2 separate regions of the Homo sapiens genome follow, and region 2 is linked to region 1. The links are contacts of gene promoters, found by promoter capture Hi-C in blood cells and fetal thymus (Javierre and others, 2016). All regions are on one chromosome and are shown on one strand. Each heading gives the region's core, a stretch centred on a gene start or on the middle of the fragment in contact. The rest is flanking DNA. Distances are from core to core; before and after follow the strand shown.

Region 1 (2,700 bases), core at 14-2,513:
CAGCCGTGACACCAGCACTGCTGTTGGAGGGATGAACAGCTCATGACAAAGTCCTGTCTCCTCTCTCCCCTTCCCCGTGTCTGTGCAATATCATTAGAACTGGCAGACCCTTATTAAAAACAGTTGGCCACTGAGAGGCTATATCCTGTGTGAGACAGAAGCCCAGATGGTAGGTGGTCTTACTTTTGGGGTGGGGTGTTCCAGGTGGTAACAGCCTCGAGGGCGGGAGGACCATGCCGCCTGTTTCTTGGCATCCGTAGGTGGTTCCTGCCTCCTTCCCTTTGGCAGGTGTGTGGGAAGGATTGAGTGTGAAGGGATGCTCACAAGCACTGAGAAGATGGCCTGGCACTTGTGAAATGACAGAGGTGGCCTGGGAGGTGTCCCGGACCCTGGATTTAATGTGCAACACATGGTTCAGTCGGTCCCAATGTTGGGACTGTAGAGAACGTACCAGAAGCCTCACAGATACTCAAGGAGTCGTGATTATTAGGACTGGGCTGAGTTAGCTCTATCTAGTACTTTGTAATTTTAAAGACCTACTCAAGCAATATTACAATATAAACGGGATCACATGGACTACCTTTCTACTTCAAACAACTCCAGAGGCATCCTGCTGTGGATAACAGAAGCTGATTCTCTTTCTCTCTCCGCCTCCTCCTCGTCTTCCACCTCCCTCATAAAGCATCCCCCAGCACTGACAGGGTACCGTCATAATGATGGTTATATTGAACTATGTGAGTGCCTACTCTTTGCTAACCAAACTAAATTATTAGTTGCATCATTTCATCTCAACTTCACACAGTTATTATATTTTTTCCTTTTTCTTTTATTATGGCAAAGTCTAGTTAATGTAAACCTTGCCATTTTAACTTTTTTAAAGTGAATATTTCAGTGGCATTGGGTCCATTCGCATTATCGCACCACCATCGCCACCGTCCAATTTCAAAACTGTTTCCATCCTGCAGAACTGGCACTTAGTATTCATTACACGACCCCCTCCTGCAGCCACGCTGGGAGCTGACCCTCTCCACCCATGCTTCGTGCACTCAGGCGCTCATCCAGGGATCATCCTGTACCTCAGACTCTGCCAAGAACTGTCCGGCCCCAGGGCCTTTGCAAGCGCAGGTCGCACGGCCTGGGATGCCCTCTCCCAGCTCACCACATGGCTGGCTCTTTCCCATTCATTGGCCTCAGCCCAGTGGCCTCCTTCTCGTCAGAGAGGCCGCCCCTGCCTGCCCTGGCTGGCCGGCCCCTCCCCCACAATGACTCTATGACATCATCGTGTTCCTTCTCCTCGGAGCCCTCAGACCCTCTGAAATCCTCTGGTCTGTGTTTTGTTTCCTCCGTCTCTATCTCTCTCCCCACTAGAAGGCAGGTCTCAGGAGGGCAAGGACCCGGCCTGTCCAGCTTCCAGCCGTAGCCCCAGGGCCGGGTGTGCAGTAGATACTCAACAAGCCTTCTTTCCTCCCACCAGCCTTTCCTCCACAAGGGGAGACAGGACTTGGGGGTGTTTTTGGGGGTCTAAACAACACAAAGGAAAGAGACGCTGAAGTGGGTGAGCTGGCCTCGCACTGCACTTCCTGCTGGAGTTCAAAGTCAGCCCTGCCCCTGGAACTGCCATGGCCAGTTTAGATTGTTCCAGAATCCCGCTGCAGGCTGTTCAAAAGGCTCCCAGCTGCTATCAGGAAATAGCTCAGGAAGGTCCCTGTTAAACACCACCCCCATCCCCGTAACCCTGAGCAGCCCTCCGCCACCTGCTATTTTCTATCTCTGAGAATTTGCTGACATTAGGCAAGTCATGTCTGTGGAATTATACAATGTTTGTCCTTTTATGAGTGGTTTGTTTCACTCGGCACCATATCCTCAAGGCTCACTCATGTCATAGCAGGTGTCAGAACTTCCTTCCTTTTTAAGGCTGAATAATATTCCACTGTATGGATGGACCACGTTTTGTTTATCCATTCTCCTGTCAATGAACATTTTCGTTGCTCTCAGCATTTGGCTGTTAGGAATAGCGCTCTGAGGACATTTGTGCACACGTGTTTGCATGGATTTAATTGTTTTTCCTTTTCTTGCCTGTTCTTGGGTGTCGTGGCCAAGAAGCCACTGCCGAGTCCAACATTGTGAAGCTTTCCCCCTATGTTTTCTTCTAAGAGTTTTGTAGTTTTTTTACATTTAGTTATTATGGTAATGCCTTTGATCCTTTTTGAGTTAATTTTTTGTATCTGGTGTAAGAGAAGGGCTCAACTTCATTCTTCTGCGTGTGGTATTTGGTTTTCCAAATACCATTTTTTGAAAAGACTGCCCTTTCCCCACTGAAGGGTCTTGGCTCAAGACACTTGAATGTCAAATAAGTCAAAGGGCTTCTTTCTGGGCTCTGTGTTCTGTCCCATTGGTCTATCTGTCTGTATGTAGGTCAGGACCACAGTGTTTTGATTGTCATAGTTTTCTAGTAACTTTTGAAATCAGAAAGTGTATGACTTCCAACTTCCTGGTTTGTATTTTTACATTTTATATTTTGTCCCCATTTTACAGATGAGACAAAGGAAGCTCAGAGAGGGGAACTGACTTCCGAGGTCACAGAACAAGCAAGGGTGGGACAGGATTTGAACCCAGGCTTGTTTGACCCCAGCCCCTTTCAACAAACATTTCTGTCTCAGCTTGGATCACAGAGCAAGAAAGTTACAGCCCTTCCCAGCC
Region 2 (2,700 bases), core at 10-2,509, 150 kb after region 1:
AGGGAGATGTGTTAGGGACTTGCTGTATCCGGTGGAAACTATGATGCTGCTATTCTCAAAAATGCACCTACACACCTAGTTTGCACCTTCCACTTCAATATCCTTTGATCTGGAGATAAAAACACAGCCTTTCGCCTTCCCCATGCTTGACCCACTCTGTTACCCAAGGCCCTGGAAGCAGCCCCCAGGCTGACCCTTGATGGGGGGCAGCAACCTCCCGGCCCCCAATCAAGGGGTCTGCTGCTCTCCTCTGAGGTGGCAGAGGAGAGAAAGTGGGACAAAGTCCTCAAAGAAATGCCTCATCCCCAAGTAACTCACTCCCTAGGCTGTGAGCATTATCGCTACGTCAACTTTGGAGGAGTTGGAAGGAACCACCCTCAGAACAACTCTCCTTCCATGGGGGAGAAAGTTTACAAGCAAAACTTTAATTTGGTCCAGTAATTATCTATCTCTCGATGTCCCCTCTTCCTTGTGAAGTGTTGTTTCCTGGGATCGACTGACTTCTTTACCGCCGGGGTGCTAATCTGATTACCAGGCTGGTGAGCTCGGCCTTCAAAGCGTGTGTGAAGCAGTGTCGGTCTTCTTTGTAGTAACGGGGAAAGCAGAGATTCACAACAGGGCTTGGGGGATGGCGCCCCAGCGGTGCCAGGAGGTCCATCTCTCCAGGTGGAAAACCCAGGCCGGGTGTTCTCTGGGCCCTGCCTTCCACCTGCAGGCGGGCGGGGGTCCAATGAACCCACACCCAGGCTGAACTGGCCAGAAAGGGAGGGAACAGCATCTACACAAGCAGACTATGGCGACCACCAGAGAAAATAGGGCGGACAACCCAAATCTCCCCAGTCAAAGTTCCTCTAGGAAAAGATTAGACACGGCTCCGAAAGTTCCACTGGGCTAGACGCCCGCCGAGTCTCCGTTTCACCTTGTCTGTGGAGACGCAGCTATGCGGTGTCTGATAAGTGGACCGGACCTGGAAGCGCCGGGCTGTGGTCGCCCAAAGGCGTGGTGCCCGCATCAGCCTGGCTGCCCTGACCCAGGAAACACCGACCCTGTCCCAGGGCCACAGACACGGCCCAGGTCACCAGCCTCGTGGGTCAGTCTCTCTCCCGCTGCTGCAAGTCGGGCTGTCTCTCCTGCTGGCCGTTCTCCTCTAACCAAAGCAAAGGAGGGCAGCACCGCCAGGGTCCTTGCCTATCCACGGAGGAAAAGACGGCAGTGGGATCCGGAAAAGGGGGAGAGAAAAAAAAGTTCTCTCGGGATGGAAGGACTTGATAGGGCCTTTAGAAAATCTAATTGCTTAGCCCCAGAAAAAAAAAAAAGGCAGCCGGCCAGGAAATAATGTCAAAATCCGGGCTAATTATATTATTAAAAACAAAGAAAAAAACGAAAATGAAAAGGAGCAGAGCGGTGAAGGGGATAAGGGAGACTGAGTTCTAGCCGCATCCGAGTGTCCCGGAAGCGTTATCTGAGTGCTCCTTAAAAAAAAAGGAGCTGCGGGACTTAAATTAGGGTTTTTCTTATCCACAAACCTGATTGCGCTACCGAGGGTTGGTGGGGGGAACGAGGTGAGGGGGCTGATTGCAAACAGAGGGTTCTCGATTTGGAGAAAGTTAGAGAGGCGGGCAGGGCAATTTCACCCAGTTAGAGGAGGTGGGGGGGAGAAGGTTTCTGCTGGAGGTCCCAGAGCGGCCCAGAGCGCGCTCCCTTTGATTGGGCCTGGGACCAGAGCGCGGCGAGTCTCCGGCGGCCGCGGCGCGATCGGCTGGCTGTTTGTAATTCCATCCTTTTTTCATTAACATAAACACCACTTGAACAAAAATATACACGGCCACCTACTTCGTCGGGAAAGACAGTCCAGCGCCCACCGGCCCGTGCTCGCCCGCCTGCCGAGCCCCGAGTCCCGGCAACGCGCCCCGGGTGCTCCGGTCCACTCGGCACACGCCGCGCGCGGGGCTCGGCCGAGGTGGCTTCGGGTGGCTCTGAAGCCTCGGTCTTCCCGGCTCCCAGGACGCCCCCCCCGCCCCCGCCCCTCCATTCAGCCTGTCATCTCGGCCCTCCGCCGCCTCCGGAGCCCCGACGGAGGTGCTGAGTTGTCAACGCAAATTCCTAGTTAAGCCACTTGTTGATAAACCCTCTAGGCAAATTGGTTCCGTCTTTACCTGCCCGCCCCGCCCCCGCCCCCGGCCCCAGCCGGCGCGCCCCTAATTGCTGGAGGAGCTCGACGCCGGCGGCGGCCTCTGCAGCGAGCTAATTGAGTTGGAACCCGAGCGGTCTTCGTTAAGCCGGACGCAAGGCGGGGACGGGGGAAGGGGGCGGGAGGTGAGACGCAGCCTGGGACCTCCGGCCTGGGGTTGGAGGCCCACGCTTGCTGGGGTGGGCTTTTGGTGGAGGAAGAGCAATCATGCGGAGGGCTCTGCCGCCGGGTTAAGTGGACGCAGCGACTATCTGGCGGTTCTCGGGGGTCTGCGTTCCCTGGTTCACAACCACCCCACCCCCACGCGCCTGTGCACATGTCCCTCCCGCCGCGCAGGGTCTCCGCGGGCGCGCCCCGCCCCAAATAGAGCTTACTACAGTAACCCGGGAGTCTCACATCTGCGCGTCCCCCACCCGCCCACCCCCGCACCGCCTGTACCCCAATTTCGGCCCGCACCCGACCAAATTTTAAAAATTGGGAGGGTTTTGGGGACTGCAATGGAAAATCAG

The links. The method cuts DNA at HindIII sites, captures the fragments that hold promoters and counts their contacts. A CHiCAGO score of 5 or more calls a contact.
Region 2: a fragment that was not itself captured here is called in contact with the fragment with the promoter of LINC00917 in region 1 in 1 of 17 cell types (endothelial precursors); the score reaches 10.8 in endothelial precursors.

Annotation. Positions count from the first base shown.
Region 1 is chr16:86,344,416-86,347,115 of GRCh38, forward strand. It overlaps LINC00917 (long intergenic non-protein coding RNA 917), which reads right to left and starts at 1,264. Exons shown (of 7, transcript NR_024406.1): 1 at 1,077-1,264. The HindIII fragment of the contact is 3,722 bases long and covers 1-2,127 here.
Region 2 is chr16:86,495,459-86,498,158 of GRCh38, forward strand. All of the region lies in intron 1 of FENDRR (FOXF1 adjacent non-coding developmental regulatory RNA), which reads right to left. Among named protein-coding and RNA genes, the nearest start is that of FENDRR, 12 kb to the right of the region's middle. The HindIII fragment of the contact is 5,562 bases long and covers 1-2,700 here.